Regions from separate parts of the Homo sapiens genome. Here all the other regions are linked to region 3. Evidence: promoter capture Hi-C in 16 types of primary human blood cells and fetal thymus (Javierre and others, 2016). All regions are on one chromosome and are shown on one strand. The core of a region is centred on a gene start or on the middle of the fragment in contact, and the rest is flanking DNA. Distances in the headings are between cores, read along the strand shown. Region 1 holds the start of SNAPIN (SNAP associated protein). Region 2 holds the start of S100A6 (S100 calcium binding protein A6). Region 3 holds the start of CREB3L4 (cAMP responsive element binding protein 3 like 4). Region 4 holds the start of S100A16 (S100 calcium binding protein A16). Region 5 overlaps UBAP2L (ubiquitin associated protein 2 like).

Region 1 (3,198 bases), core at 145-2,644, 310 kb before region 3:
GCTAATTTTTTTTTTTTTTTTTTTTTTTGAGATGGAGTCTCGCTCTGTCGCCCAGGCTGGAGTGCAGTGGCGCGATCAGGGCTCACTGCAAGCTCTGCCTCCCGGGTTCACGCCATTCTCCTGCCTCAGCCTCCCGAGTAGCTGGGACTACAGGAGTCCGCCACTGCGCCCGGCTAATTGTTTGTATTTTTAGTAGAGATGGGGTTTCACCGTGGTCTCGATGTCCTGACCTCGTGATCCACCCGCCTCGGCCTCCCAAAGTGCTGGGATTACAGGCGTGAGCCACTGCGCCTGGCCGCCTGGCTAATTTTTTATTTCCTGTAGAGACAGAGTCTCACTAGGTTTGTTGCCCAGACTGATCTCGAACTCCTGGGCTCAGGTGATCCTCCCGCCTCAGCCTCCCAAAGTGCTGGGATTACAGGAGTGAGCCACCATGCCCTGCCTGCATGTTTATATTATTCAGCCTTAAAAAGGAATGAAATTCGGATACATGCAGTTTTTTACATATTTAATGCCATTAAAAATATACTCTTTAGAAATAGACCAGGCGTGGTGGCTCACGTCTGTAATCCCAGCACTTTAGGAGGCTGAGTTGGGAGGATCACCTGAGCCCAGGAGTTCGAGACCAGTCTGGGCAACAAACATAGTGAGACCTCTTCTCTACAGAAAATGAAAAATTAGTCAGGCATGGTGGCTAACACCTGTGGTCCCTGCTACTTGGGAGACTGAAGCAGGAGGACCTCTTGACCCCAGGAGGTGAAGGCTACAGTGAGCCAAGACGGTGGCACTGCACTCCAGCCTAGGCGACAGAGAGAGACCTTGTCTTAAAAACAACCAACCACAATAAACTCTTTAGAAATAGAAAACGATACTATGAATATAATGTGGCTTTCTCATAAAGTGTTTTTGTTTTTGGTTTGTTTTTGTTTGGTTTGGGTTGCTTTTTTTTTTTTTTTTTTTTTTTTTGAGGCGGAGTCTCTCTGTTGCCCAGACTGGAGTGCAGTGGCGCGATCTCGGCTCACTGCAATCTCCGCCTCCCGGGTTCAAGCGGTTCTCCTGCCTCAGTCTCCCAAGTAGCTGGGTGCCCGCCACCATGCCCGGCTATCTCATAAAGTTAACATGGGAAGGCTATGGACAACTGCAGGTATTCGCGTTTATTTTCACCTTTAAAGAAAACGAAAAGTATCCACTCCAAAAACTGGTTCCTTTCTACAACCTGAACTTTGGAGATTTTCAAGACCAGCCACAAGGCCTCTACTCCTACGGCCTGGCCCTCCTCCCCGCCCGGTTCGCGCTAGACTCCATTTCCCAGAAACCCCGGTGTCTTGGTGGAGACAGCATTTCCCGGGCGCCCCCTCACGGGGCGGGGCAGTGCGGCGCGGCTCCGGTTCCCGGCGGCCCTCGCGGCAGGTTTCGGGCTTCAGGACAATTCGTGATGGCGGGGGCTGGTTCCGCCGCTGTATCGGGGGCAGGGACCCCGGTGGCGGGGCCCACAGGCCGCGACCTTTTCGCCGAAGGGCTGCTGGAGTTCCTGCGACCCGCTGTGCAGCAGCTCGACTCTCACGTACACGCCGTCAGGTGCCCGGGAGGGAAGTTGGGGGCGGGGCCTGTCTCTCTGGCTTTGTAGGGGCGGGGCCAAGAAAGTGTTCTGGCTGGGAGTGGGCATAAATTTAGGAAACTGATTCGAGGCGGGGAGGACAGGCGGGAAGGCCGCAGGTGGAGGGTTCAGCGGAGGCCGGCTTCTCTCAGTACTTGGTAAATACGTAGGGGAGTTCGTTTCCTGAGCTCCGGTAACTGCCTGACCTTGTAGGCCTTGTACCTCTTTGCAGAGAGAGCCAGGTAGAGCTCCGGGAACAAATTGACAACCTAGCCACAGGTGAGTGAGCATCCCTGTGTACCCGGAATTCTTCAGCCCACTTTCAGGACCTTAGGTTTTTGCCAACCCCTGGGCTGAGTTTCTGTCACTTGCTTCCAGGGCATCAGGGCTGCCAAAGGACTCCTCCTTTCAGGGATGTCTTAAATCTCTAATGGCTGTGGCCCGTTTGGGTGCAAGTGTTTTCCATCCCATTACCAGCCTGCTTTCCCTCAGAACAAGAGATAAGCCGTTAGATCTTAGCTGCACCTTACTTCCATCCCCAGAACTGTGCCGCATAAATGAGGATCAGAAGGTGGCCCTGGATCTTGACCCCTATGTTAAGAAGCTACTTAATGCCCGGCGACGCGTTGTCTTGGTTAACAACATTCTACAGAATGCTCAGGTAAAAGAATATCTTACCAACAGTGATTCTTTGCCCTTTTTTGTAAGTCCTCAACACAGTGAAAGCCACTGTAATTTTAAAATTCTTTGGGGAAAGGGAAATTCACTTCTCCCAGTACTTGAAAAATACCTAGGAAAATTCGTCTCATTCTCACTATTCAGTTGCTGCCATTTACATTCTTGTGTGTGTGTGTGTGACAGTCTCCCTCTGTCACCCAGGCTGGAGTGCGGTGGCTCAATCTCAGCTCGCTGCAACCTCCGCCCCCTGGGCTCAAGCAATTCTGCCTCCGCCTCCCGAGTAACTAGGACTACAAGCGTGCACAACGCCCAGCTAATTTTTGTATTTTTTTGTAGAAGTAGGGTTTCTCCATGTTGCCCAGGCTGGTCTGGAACTCCTGGGCTCAAGTGAGCTTCCCACCTTGGCCACCCGAAGTGCTGAGACTACAGGAGTGAACCACCACACCTGGCTATTTATTTTTATGATACAAGGTCTATCACCCAGGATGGAGTGCAGTGGCATGATAAAGGCTCACTGCAGCCTCTACCTCCCAGGCTCAAGCGATCCATCCACCTCAGCCTCCCAAGTAGCTGGGACTACAGGCATGCACCACCATGTCCAGCTAATTTTTGTATTTTTTCTAGAGACAGGGTTTCACCATGTTACCCAGGCTGGTCCCAAACTCCTGCATGCGAGTGATCCACCTGCCTGGGCCTCCCAAAACGCTGGGATTACAGGCGTGAGCCACTGCACCCGGCCTGCCTGGCCTTTTTTTTTTTTTTTTTAAATAAAAAGACAGGATCGGCTGGGCGCGGTGGCTCTTGCCTGTAATCCCAGCAGTTTGGGAGGCCGAGGTGGACAGGTCACCTGAGGTTGGGAGTTGGAGACCAGCCTGACCAACATAGAGAAACCCCGTCTCTACTAAAAATACAAAATTAGCTGG
Region 2 (2,825 bases), core at 25-2,524, 430 kb before region 3:
GTAGATCAAAGCCAAGGCCCCCAGGAAGGTGACATACTCCTGGAAGTTCACCTCCTGGTCCTTGTTCCGGTCCAAGTCTTCCATCAGCCTTGCAATTTCAGCATCCTGCAGCTTCTAATGTGTTAGAATGTGAAATCCATACTCAGTGGTGATGACAACCCTGGATTCTTCCCCTTCCCCCTCCCAGGCAATCCTCTCTGCAAGTGGCTCTGTGCTCCCTCATCACCAAGGACCCATGTCACTTTGGCATTGCTTCTCCTCAGCTACTTCTCAGTTACTGGTCCTCATTTGGAGAGATGGATATCCGGCTGGAAGCATCCCCTACCCGCTGGGAGAGTGGGTCTACAGCTCAGGGTCTACATGTGGACCAGGGCCTCAGAATGTGGGTAAATGTGAGTCAGATGCACCTGGCACCTCTCTCTCCCCTAATCCTGCTTCCAAAGGACAAGGGTGGGAAAAGGGGTCCTGGGGAGGAGGCCACTCACCGAGCCAATGGTGAGCTCCTTCTGGATCAGCTCCTTCAGCTCCTTCTTGCTCAGGGTGTGCTTGTCACCCTCCCTGCCGGAGTACTTGTGGAAGATGGCCACGAGGAGGCCAATGGCCTGATCCAGGGGGCATGCCATGGCTGAGGGCTGGGCTTGGAGCTGGCAGCAGAGGGCCTAGTCAGTGCCATGGGAGCAAGGACTTCTCACCCACACACCCCAATAATGCTGCCTGCACTAGCCCCGCCTCCTTTGGAACCACCCAGTCTCAGGCCACACACAATGGCATCAGGAGACAGCCCAGGGCTTGAAGGGGAAGGAGAGAGCACACTAGGGCCAAGGCAAGAGAGGTGGCTTAAGGATTCTAAGAAGCATATAGGAACAGTAGCTTTGGGCACAGCTGAGAACTGTCCTTCAGGGGATCCAGAAGTTGAGGAGTATGGCTGGGCAGGGGAGGGGAATGGAGGCTGCAAAGGCAGCTTAAACACAGCTTCACAGGGCCACACATGGTGGCAATGACACACCCAGGGCACTCCCTTCCGCACCCCAAAAGAGCACACCCCATTGCGATCCCTTAGCCCAAGGCCTGCCTGGCACAGCACTGCTGCTCCTGACTATCCCTCCAGCGGGGGAGCGCCACAGATGGCCCCAGTCTGGATCCAGCGGCTGAACTGGGCAGGGGATGGCTGGACCCCCAGCGTGAGGGCAGCTGGCCCTGGAAAGTACCCAGGGCTCCTGGAGAGAACTCACCGGTAGGGAGGCGGCCAAATGCGACGCGAGCGGTCGAGGGGATGGGCTGTGTCGCAGTCCGACTGGCCTTATAGCGGTCGGTGCCCCGGAGGCCAGCTCGGCCAAGCCCACCCCGCCCGCCCAAGTCCCGCCCGCGCCCCACCCTGCGCCGTGGCTTACACAACGCACATTCGCGGTTTACCCCCTCGACTTTCCACGCCTCCTGCCCGGGGCTGTTCCGGGTTAGGACGGGATGGGGGAGCCCAGCAGTGCCCACTGCACGCCTGGTGACGAGTCTCCCCTCATCTGCGCAGCTCAGTTTGCTCAGTTTGCTCTTCGTGACACGTGACTCGGCAAGGGGAGCAGGAGGAGGACTGCGGCGGTCACCCCTGCTTCCTCTGCCAGACCGTGAATGTGACCCTCGAGCCAGCGCAGCGTCAATGTGGGCAAGGAGGGCGCCTCACAGGATGCCGGTGTCCCACAGAGGATACTCAGGGTCACCCCAGAGGAGATAGGGGGAGTAGCCAGTGGTGTAAAGGATATCTACGGCGCCCATCCCCCACCAGCAACAAGTTCCTACCAACACCTCCACTCCTTCCCCTCAGTGCCCCAAATTCCATTCACTACAGCACCTTTGGTGTTAATGTGCATGCACGTGGGAGCCCAGCCCTGTAAGCACCATTCGTTATTTACGGGGGAGTGAAGGCCTTTTCAGACCCTCCCCTGAGAAAAGATTTTGATGGAGGAGGCAGGGAGAGAAGAAAGCACTGTCCCCCATAGATGATGAGAGTGGTGCTATTGAAGGGGAAATGGTGAAGAGGGAGGGGGCTGGTGTGGAGGCCAGACATGCCCTTCCTACAGGTGCTGCCAAGGTGGCCTCCGGTGAGCTGTGGACAAGTCAGGCCTGCCTGCCTATCACCGCCCTCAGGAGCCACTCCCAACCCCTCCCAGTGTCCTCCTCTCAAAGCAACTTTCCCTCTTAACTTCCTCTGCATCCTTGCAGAGTTCCCGCCTGGCCTAACTTCCCCATTTTCCAGGCAGGCAAAACTAAGCCATGACAAAACCAATGACGTCCACACCAAAGAAGGAGAGGAATGCAGTGGGAGCCCAGGACCCTAACCCCCAGAGGCAGAAGCTGTCTCAACCCACTCAAGGAGAGACCCTTCCTGTGCTCCCCTCTCCCCAGGCCAAGGTAGACAAGACAGCTTCAAAACCAGACTCCCAGCACCTGCGATGGAAACTTTATTTCCTCCCATGGAAGGGTCCATCTGGGAGGGAGAGGAGGGCAGGGGGCCAAAGAGGGTCTGTGAGAGGAGCAGCCGAGGTCAGCAGCAAAGGGTGGAGGGTGAGGGTGGAGGGCAGCCCTGGTCACTTGTTGTCCTCTAGAAAGAAGTCGTTGTAGGCCATGCACAGCATGGTCAGGAACACCGAGTACTCCTTGAAGTCGATCTCCTGGTCGCTGTTCTTGTCCAGGCTCTTCATCAAGTCATCGATGCTGCTCTCCTTCATCTTTTGTGGACCCAGGTGGAGAGACAGCTCAGACCCCGCTCCCAGCCCTGCCCTCGCACCACTGCATGGTGTCATCCCCACCCCGAAACTTCAGGGTGAGCCCCA
Region 3 (3,009 bases), core at 510-3,009:
AGCTTTGCTTTCCTTGGAGCTCTGCATCAATCTAGGAAGGCTGCTTTGTCTCTTCACTACTTGAGCAGGATGGAGAGATATGAGCGGGAAAGACAGATAAGAAATCTGAGAAAGCCCCACAAGGTGGGTTGATAGTGTGAAGAACATGGGCTGAAGCATCCAAATCTTGGTTCAGCTACTTACAGGGTAACCTTGAGAAAGTTACTTAAACTTGTCAGCTCGGACGGGCGTGGTGGCTCACGCCTGTAATCCCAGCACATTGGGAGGCCGAGGTGGACGGATCACGAGGTCAGATCGAGACCACCCTGGCTAACACGGTGAAACCCTGTCTCTACTAAAAATACAAAAAAATTAGCTGGGCGCCTGTAGTCCCAGCTACTAGGGAGGCTGAGGCAGGAGAATGGCGTGAACCCGGGAGGCGGAGCTTGCAGTGAGCCGAGATCGAGCCTCTGCACTCCAGCCTGGGCCACAGAGCAAAAGAAAAACAAACAAACAAACTTGTCAGCTCCATCTGCTGTAAGAATTATATGAGTAACATGGAAATGCCTGACTAGACCCTGTTCCCGTTTTTACCCTTAGCCCGTTCAAATCTTCATAAGGATAATTAGTAGCAGTTTGAGTTCTGGGATTCACACTCCAAACTACTGTTTTACTCACCCAGCTACCCTTTTCTGAAATACTACTGAAAACCATACCTGTATCAGTTTACCTCCATTGTTTTACTTGAAGTGAATTCCTGGACCATCAGACATTAGACCAAGGCAAAAAAATAAAAATAATCAATCAACCCTGAGTTTTGGTATTACTACTTTCTAGTCATGGATCTGCCTCCTCATAGGTAAAATTTGCAAAATATTACCCGCCGTGTGTGCCTCAGAACTGTTATGGATTAAGGAAGAGAACAATTTTTATGAAAACGTTTTGTAAATTATACAAGTGTGGGACATAATGTTCCCGGTAACTGTATGCAAACAATAAGACAACAAACGCAAAAGGCTTTTTAACTTGTTGCAGTTTTCCTGCCCCGTGTCCCTCCGTGAATGAGCAGCGTGCAGCGAGCGTGTGCGCACAGCTGCTGTTCTCCATTAACGCCACACTGCTCGGCTTGCGGACGGGGAAACCCGCCATCGCGCTCCTGCCGCCTGCCGAGCGAGGATCACCGCTCCACTGGGGTCAGCGGGCTGTTGACTCCCCGCCTGGGTGAAACCGGAGCTTCCGAGTCACGTGGCGCGCGAAGACAAACCTGGCTGCTCAGGGTTTCCCGGAGCTTTCTCCCAGCTTCCCGGCGATTCATATTCTGGCGCTTACCCCTCCCTTTAGGCTGGCGGAACCCAATCCCCGCCTGACAAATAAGTCCCGCCGGCCGGACGCAGTGGCTCGCGCCTGTGGTCCTAGCTGCTCGCGGTGCTGAGGCGGGAGAATCACCTGAGCCCGGGAGGTCGGGGGCTGCATGGAACCGTGATCGCACCACCGCACTCCAGCCTGGGCAACAGAGCGAGACCCTGTCTCCAAAAATAAGAATAAAGAAAAAAAAAAGAAAGAACTGCGGCCCCATTGGCCTGACTCTCCTGAACAGCCAAACTGTCTCCGACCAGTTACGGAAGAGGCGGCCTTGAGAGGGTAGTGTGCCATTGGCTCGATGTCCTGCCCCTCCGAAACCTAAGTCTTCAGCTTCCAATCAGGACTCAGCTTTGGGAAGAGCGCCACGCGGTGGGCGAGGGGATGCCCTAGTAAATTCGCAGGTCTCTTGACTCTTTCCGCCTTTGTTTACAACCCTGCCATGATCTCCCTCTTGCAAAAGCGAGGGCTACAGAACAGGCATTCAGGAGTCCTGTGCTCCAGTCACAGCCTTTTCTGTTCTTCAGCTAGGAGACACCAAACCCTCAGGAAGATTTACTATAGCTAAGAGAAAACTGCAGCAGAAAGGGCGCGGCTACCTACTTCTTAAATTCCGTTTGTGGACCCTCAGACTCTTAGTCCCCTACTCCCAGATACAGCGGCCCTACCGTGGCTCCTGGCAAGGTGGCATCCACTTTTGTAGTGTAAGGCTGGGGGCGGGGTTTGGCTGGCAGGTCCAGGATACGAGATCCTGGAAGAAAGAAAAGGTGTAGTGTTTGGGGAGGTCAACGGGCTATGCTGGCTTGACAGGGCTGGGCTCTTCAGAACAGGTAATGCTTGGGGGGGGCCTCTTTGTCTAAACCTGAGGGATAGGGCTGAAGGTGAAATATCGAGGGGACAGGTGAGGGGGCTTGCTAGTGAGGAAGGAGTGGGGGGGCGGGGATAATGGAAAAGGGAGCAGAGGAGCCCAGAAACTGTAGGGGGTAGTAAGCAGCCATCATTCCGTTTCTGCAACCCTCCGTCCCACACGCCTTCCTGCAGAAGCATGGATCTCGGAATCCCTGACCTGCTGGACGCGTGGCTGGAGCCCCCAGAGGATATCTTCTCGACAGGATCCGTCCTGGAGCTGGGACTCCACTGCCCCCCTCCAGAGGTTCCGGTAACTAGGCTACAGGAACAGGGACTGCAAGGCTGGAAGTCCGGTGGGGACCGTGGCTGTGTGAGTGTGACGAGTGGGAGTGGGGGTGGGGTTGAGACACAACTCTGTGATAAGAGGCTTCAGCTCCCACTTGGAGACAGGTCTGAAAACAGACCACCCCCAAAATAGACGTAAGTTGTATAATAACTGTCTCCATGCCCAAGAAGTGAAAGGACTGAAAATGAAGCATAAGTCAGGGAGGACTTCCAAAATTCTTCCCTGCACATATATATAACCTTTTCCTACTGTAGGGCCTTCAAGAGAGTGAGCCTGAAGATTTCTTGAAGCTTTTCATTGATCCCAATGAGGTGTACTGCTCAGAAGCATCTCCTGGCAGTGACAGTGGCATCTCTGAGGACCCCTGCCATCCAGACAGTCCCCCTGCCCCCAGGGCAACCAGTTCTCCTATGCTCTATGAGGTTGTCTATGAGGCAGGGGCCCTGGAGAGGATGCAGGGGGAAACTGGGCCAAAT
Region 4 (3,045 bases), core at 184-2,683, 350 kb before region 3:
GGGCTGACAATGCCACCTCTATCAGCAAGGCTGTTTCAAATGAAATTTCTCCAGCCTCAGCTGTTCCATTCTCTGCTCCTTCCTGTGTTCTTTCTCCAATTCCACAAGGCCCTCTCCAGGAACAGCTCCCGGAGCATAGTGGGGCCTGCTTGGCCCTGCCTCACCCCTTACCATCCTCACAGGATTCTGCGTCTAACTCTCTTTGTCTCTCTCTCACACACACACACACACACACACACACACACACACCGAGCAAGGACCTCGGCCATTCCTGATCCCCTCTGCTTGGGTGACCCATCACCCTTCCACTCACTTCAGTTCTTGGAGCAAGAAGCCAGCCTCTGAAATTTTTCCAGGCAAGTGAAGTTGGAGGAGTTCAGTGTGGATCTTGCCCCCGCCTCCCCCAACACACACACAGCTACCCCAGCCTCAACAACACTTACTAGAATGTGGGGAAAGGCAGAGCCAGCTCCCCAGCACCCCTGCCCTCACCACCATCCCCACTGGGCTGGGCAGGGGAAGGCTCCCATAGTGCAGGTGGCTCTGCCAAGAAAAGCAGCTCAAGCCGGGGCCTGCCTGGGTCCTGAGGTGGAGGAGCTGCCGAGGTTCAGCCCCCCTCTCTCTATCTTTCCCTCTCCCAGGGAGCTTGCAGGCTCCCCACAGCCTCACTCGGGTTCCTCCCAGATCTCATCATCCCTCTCAAGGAACAGCTCCTGGAACACAGTGGGGTCTGCTTGGGTCGTGAGGTAGAGGGGACGCCACCTCAGCCCCCGCCTCCTCTTCTCGGAATCTCAGGCTCCCTGGAAACTGCCTGGTTCCTTCTGGACCCCATCACCTCCCCTAGGACACAGCTCCCAGAGCCCAGCAAGGCCTGTGTCCAAGCTCTGACCACCCCCAACCCAGACCAACACGCATTTGTCCTCTCCTTTTGGGGAGGATCGAGTAGCTGTGGTCAAAGCTTCCAAATACTCTGCCCCTGGAGAGGAGCTCCGTCAGCTGCTGCGGCAGGGAGGGGGTCTCACCATCCCATCCATCCCTCTAAAGGCCTCACCCAGCCCCCAACCCCCCAGGACTCCCCATTCCTAAACTGGCCTGTGGGAGAAAGTTAATAATTACCAAAATCTTCCTGCCTGCTCTCTGGCAGGCCCCTCTCCCCAGGCCCCCTTCACTGCCCCTTCTCCTGGCCTCCCAATACTGTGGGGCCCTCCGGCAGCCGAAGACCTCCCAGGCCGGGCCCAGGGTGCTCACCTGCTGCCTCAGTCTGCCTCCTCTCCAGCAGGGCTCTGGGGCCTGGGCTCTGGCACTGCCAAGCAGCTCCCTGCGCTCAGCCCAGCCGGGACTCCTCCCCGCTGCACTCCCAGAATCTGTCCCACTCCCTCCCAGCCCTGCCCGCTGAGCTGGCTCGGTGGGGAGATAGTGGCTGAGCTCCTTCTTGACTTGGCCCTGGGGTTGGGCCCTTGTTAAAGGGATACACACCTTTTTTCACACCCCTCTACCCCCATCCCAGAGGGAGTGGTGAAAACTGGCACTCCCCCAACCCCACCCTCCCAGCCCCGCAGGGGCTGAGCAGAACCTGACAGGGTAGAGAAAGGAAGGGAAGGACTATCACCTGCCTTTCTCACCTGGGTCACTGGGATCCCAGTTTCAGGGGCTCCCAACAGACAAGTTCAGTTAACATTCCAGGCCAGCCTAACTGGCCACAGAAACCTCCTTGCCACTGGGGTTTCAGGAGTAACGCCCGACTTCTGTGCTCAAATCAGAAGGCAGATGCCAGGGACCTGTCTGGCTCCCTGGTCTTCTGTCTCTAGTCTGACCCATCAGCTCTACTGAGACCCAGCCCTAAGATCCCTCATGTACACCAGAAGACTCCTCTGGAAACTCCCCACACCCCACCGTTTCCCTAAGATACCCAAGGAAACTGGCCAGCTCGACCTCCCTACACTAGGGCAGCAGCTGAAACCAAAGAGGGGCCCACTTGCCCACTCCAGCGGGAATGATATTGGGTCACTGGGCACTCACCATGTGTCAGGCTCTCTGTAAGTGCTTTACATGATGTGTGGCATTGTCCTCCTGGCAATCCTGTGGAAGTAATATTCATATCCCCCATTTTACAGATGAGGAAACTGATACTAAGAGCATGCCCAAAATTCCAATGATAAGTGGCAGATCTGAGATTCAAACTCAGGCCAGTCAGCCTGTTTCTAACCGCCCCCCACCCCCACCCACCCCATTTCCCTGGTTGTGCCAGCCAGGGCTCAGAACACCTGGACTAATATCCTTTTCCCCAAGTGTGCACACATACCCTCCTCTCCTATAAGAGGGCCCGCCCATTGGCAAAGAGGAGCCTGTCCCTCAGAGAGGACCATGTTGCCCTTTTGGACCTGGTACCACCCTCAACCCAAACCCATAGGGAAAAGTGAGTCCCCATTCACTTCCACAGCCAACCACTCCAGCCCCACGTGCCCCACCCTACCAATGACTTTGCCTTTCACCCCCAAGCTCCTCTCACCCGTGGACCCTCAGGGAGGGGGTGTCCAGTCAAGACAACATGTTTCACTTTTTTCATTTTTTTTTATTAATCAAATGATACAAAACAACCATCATTCTGTCAATGCCCAAGCACCCAGCTGGTCCTCTCCCCACATGTCACACTCTCCTCAGCCTCTCCCCCAACCCTGCTCTCCCTCCTCCCCTGCCCTAGCCCAGGGACAGAGTCTAGGAGGAGCCTGGGGCAGAGCTGGAGGCAGGAAGAGAGCACTGGACAGACAGCTATGGTTTGGATTGGGGAAGAGATTAGGAAGTAGGTTCTTAAAGACCCTTTTTTAGTACCAGATATCCAGCCATATTCCCAGCTCCATTATTCAAATCATTTCCCATAGCCCAGCTCCTCTCTGTTCTCCCCCTACTACCAATTCTTTGGCTCTTACACAATTTTTATCCCTCAAATATTCATCCCTGGCCCAACCAGTCCCCTGAGCCTCCCTCTGGTGGAGACTCCTCCACCCATGAGCTCCCCAGAGCATCCAAGACAGAGTGCACAGAGAC
Region 5 (3,204 bases), core at 432-2,931, 260 kb after region 3:
TGCACACTACTGTTTCATTGCCTGAACTTCCTTCTGTTGAGGTAGCAGAGAAACAAGCTTTGTAGCCTGCTGACCATCCCTGGAGATGATAGGGGATATCTTGGAGGATCTCTTGCCCTGGAATTTAGACAAGTCGCTTTCACTTCTCCTTCCCACTTCATGAGAATTCTGTTTTTATGCTTGTCTTATGTTTGTACCAAATTGTAATCCTCTGACTGCCTTATTGATCTTCAGAATGTTCCTGCAGTGCTTACTAGAGAAATTTTGTTTTTTTAATGAGCAGTGTATTATTATTATTATTATTATTTTGAGCCAGGGTCTTACTCTGTGGCCCTGGCTGGAGTACACTGACATGCTGCAACCTCCTCGTCCTGGGCTTAGGTGATCCTCCTACTTCAGCCTCCTGAGTAGCTGGGACCACAGGCATGGGCCACCATGTCCAGCTGATTTTCCCATTTTTAGTAGAGCCAGGGTTTCTCCATGTTGCTCAGGCTGATTTCAAACTCCTGGACTCAAGCTAGCTGCCCGCCTCGTCCTCCCAAAGTGCTGGGATTATGGGCATGAGCCACCGCACCTGGCCCAGTGTATTATTTTGAAATCATTTTCATTTATTGGGTCTTATACTGGGGCTCTTTGGTTGGAATAGATATCAAAATTCATCCTTACAGATAACAACTTGTTTTTTTTCTTGAGTCAGAGTCTTGCTCTTGTTGCCCAGGCTGGAGTGCAGTGGCGTGAACCTGCTCTCTGCAGCCTCCACCTCCCAGGTTCAAGTGATCCTGTGCCTCAGCCTCCAGAGTAGCTGGGATTACAGGCATTCACCACCATACCCAGCTAATTTTTTTTTTTTGAGACGGTGTCTCTCTCTGTCTCCCAGGCCGGAGTACATCTCGGCTCACTGCAAACTCTGCCTCCTGGGTTCAAGCAATTCTCATGCCTCAGCTTCCCGAGTAGCTGGGACTACAGGCATGCACCACCATGCCTGGCTAATTTTTTGTATTTTAGTGGAGACAGTGTTTCACTATGTTGCCCAGGGTGGTCTTGAACTCCTGAGCTCAGGCAATCCTCCTGCCTCGGCCTTCCAAAATGTTAGGATTACAGGCGTGAGCCATGAAACCTGGCCTCAGATACAACAGCTTTCTGATACTACAGAGTCACTCCAGCTAAATGCAGGAGGTTTGTCAATTTCTTTGAGACAATGGGAAATAATAATGGAAAACTTTTAAAAACAATTGAATTTAAATTGGTGGGTTTTTTCTTCAAAAGTGTTATCCTGGATTAAATTTTACACTGTTGACCTTATTTGAATATTTACTATCTGGCCAATCAAGATATGCTTTTGATTTGTTTTGGGTTTACTCTAGAATAATTGTCTCCAGATTTTATGGGGGGAATCAGGTGGGGCTATTTATGTTTTTTTAAAAGTCTGAATGTTTTTTCGCAAATCACATTTTATCTTACCTTCCAGCATCTTCTGTCTAGTGCTATAAGGCTGATGTTATACAGTATCAAAAAGGAAAATAAGCTGGAGAATATAGGTTTATGTTACGAATAAACTAGCTACTAGTGAAACCAATGGGAAGCAAAGTCAGCTCCCAGGGATATTGGATGTATTTGGGTGGGTGAGATCATTTCAGAAAACTGAAGTCGCCTTTGGGAAGATAATAGTAATTCTTTCTCCTGACCCATCTTGTGCCAGCAACAGATGTGCATACAGAGGAGGGAGAAAGGTTACAGTTTCCTGAAACTTGCCAGGTTTTGAGATAGCAGCATAAATTCTAAAAGCTGTTTTGAGTCTAGCTTCCAGAGTGTTCCTGGTGTATATTTAGCTACAGGGTTGTTCTAACTTACTGTGAGCATAAAATGACCCACTAACTGTAATGTATAATAGGCTTGGGTTGGAAGAGTAGGCAGCAACAAACTACCAAGTCTTGGGTAGGTAATCTTTTTAAAACAAATGAATTAAGAGATGGGGTCTTGCCCTGTCACCCAGGCTGGAGTGCAGTAGCATGATCACTGCAGCCATGGACACCTGGGTTCAAGCAATCCTCCCACCTCAGCCTCTTTAGTAGCTGGGACAACAGGTGTGCGCCACCACACTTGGCTTTTTTTTTTTTTTCTTTTTTCTTTTTTTTGAGATGGAGTCTTGCTCTGTTGCCCAGGCTGGAGTGCAATGGTGAGATCTCGGCTCACTGCAGCCTCTGCCTCCTGGGCTCAAGCGTTTTTCCCACCTCAGCCTCCCAAGCAGCTAGGGCCACAGGTGTGTGCCACCACACCTGGCTGATTTTGGTATGTTTAGTAGAGACAGGGTTTTGCCATGTTGCCTAGGATGGTCTCTAACTCCTGGCCTCAAGTGATCCACCCTCCTTGGCCTCGGAAAGTGCTGGGATTATAGGTGTGAGCCACCATCCCCGGCCCTGTTTTCTATTTCTATGAATTTGCCTGTTTTAGAGATCTCATGTAAGTGAAATCATGTAATATTTGACCTTGTATGTCTAACTTACTTCACTTAGTGTAATGTTTCAAGGTTCGTCCATATTGTGGCATGGGTCAGAATTTCATTCCTTTTTAAGGCTAATATTCCGTTGTACATATATGTGGCATTTTGTTTACTCATCAGTGGACACTTGGAATTATCTGGAAGTTGTAGACATAATACTTGATACCCTTAAGTTCTTCAACATGCTTCCCTTAAAGGAGGATACTCTTACATTACCATAATACTATTATCAATCCTGATAAGGTTAATAATTTTGTATTATCTAATACTCAGCCCATATTCTGAAAGTGATTAGACATTAGGTAGCTGTTACTGAGCACTAGGGCCATGATTGAGTTTGATGGTAAGATAATAAAGATCTGAGGCTGTGCACAGTGGCTCACACCTGTAATCCCAGCACTTTGGGAGGCCATGGCGGGCGGATCACGAGGTCAAGTGATCAAGACCATCCTGGCCAACATGGTGAAACCCCATCTCTACTAAAAATGCAAAAATTAGCTGGGCCTGGTGGTGCCCTGTAGTCCCAGTTGCTTGGGAGGCTGAGGCAGGAGAATCACTTCAACCTGGGAGGCGGAGGTTGCAGTGAGCCGAGATCGCACCACTGCACTCCAGCATGGTGACAAAGTGAGACTAAGTTTCCAAAAAAAAAAAAAGGAAAGAAATCTGATAGTGTTGGTGTTTGTCCTGGAAGTTCCATTTGTACA

What was found. Contacts are between HindIII fragments. The CHiCAGO score rates a contact against its expected background, and 5 or more counts as called.
Region 1: the fragment with the promoter of SNAPIN here is called in contact with the fragment with the promoter of CREB3L4 in region 3 in 16 of 17 cell types (total B cells, naive B cells, erythroblasts and 13 more); the score reaches 13.4 in total B cells.
Region 2: the fragment with the promoter of S100A6 here is called in contact with the fragment with the promoter of CREB3L4 in region 3 in 1 of 17 cell types (M0 macrophages); the score reaches 5.2 in M0 macrophages.
Region 4: the fragment with the promoter of S100A16 here is called in contact with the fragment with the promoter of CREB3L4 in region 3 in 2 of 17 cell types (total B cells and erythroblasts); the score reaches 6.8 in total B cells.
Region 5: a contact is called between a fragment that was not itself captured here and the fragment with the promoter of CREB3L4 in region 3, in 1 of 17 cell types (total B cells). The highest score is 5.9, in total B cells.

The regions. Positions count from the first base shown.
Region 1 is chr1:153,657,309-153,660,506 of GRCh38, forward strand. It overlaps SNAPIN (SNAP associated protein), which reads left to right and starts at 1,395. Exons shown (of 4, transcript NM_012437.6): 1 at 1,395-1,578; 2 at 1,830-1,876; 3 at 2,140-2,258. The coding sequence starts at 1,436. RefSeq lists an enhancer at 1,161-1,240. The HindIII fragment of the contact is 14,460 bases long and covers 1-3,198 here.
Region 2 is chr1:153,534,717-153,537,541 of GRCh38, forward strand. It overlaps S100A6 (S100 calcium binding protein A6), which reads right to left and starts at 1,275. Exons shown (of 3, transcript NM_014624.4): 1 at 1,233-1,275; 2 at 486-644; 3 at 1-114. The coding sequence starts at 623. S100A5 (S100 calcium binding protein A5) reads right to left here. Exons shown (of 3, transcript NM_001394232.1): 3 at 2,431-2,720. The coding sequence ends at 2,580. It overlaps LOC124904423 (a long non-coding RNA gene), which reads left to right. Exons shown (of 2, transcript XR_007066630.1): 2 at 188-2,825. RefSeq lists an enhancer at 1,265-1,900. The HindIII fragment of the contact is 28,060 bases long and covers 1-2,825 here.
Region 3 is chr1:153,966,143-153,969,151 of GRCh38, forward strand. CREB3L4 (cAMP responsive element binding protein 3 like 4) reads left to right here and starts at 1,760. Exons shown (of 10, transcript NM_001255978.2): 1 at 1,760-2,022; 2 at 2,380-2,557; 3 at 2,788-3,009. The coding sequence starts at 2,384. It also overlaps a transcript of SLC39A1 not described here. RefSeq lists enhancers at 1,046-1,902, 1,337-1,556, 1,767-1,876, 1,907-2,026 and a silencer at 1,517-2,018. The HindIII fragment of the contact is 4,469 bases long and covers 1-2,821 here.
Region 4 is chr1:153,611,704-153,614,748 of GRCh38, forward strand. It overlaps S100A16 (S100 calcium binding protein A16), which reads right to left and starts at 1,434. Exons shown (of 3, transcript NM_080388.3): 1 at 1,249-1,434. It overlaps S100A14 (S100 calcium binding protein A14), which reads right to left. Exons shown (of 4, transcript NM_020672.3): 4 at 2,552-3,045. The HindIII fragment of the contact is 6,157 bases long and covers 957-3,045 here.
Region 5 is chr1:154,229,184-154,232,387 of GRCh38, forward strand. All of the region lies in intron 4 of UBAP2L (ubiquitin associated protein 2 like), which reads left to right. Among named protein-coding and RNA genes, the nearest start is that of UBAP2L, 9.8 kb to the left of the region's middle. The HindIII fragment of the contact is 3,253 bases long and covers 56-3,204 here.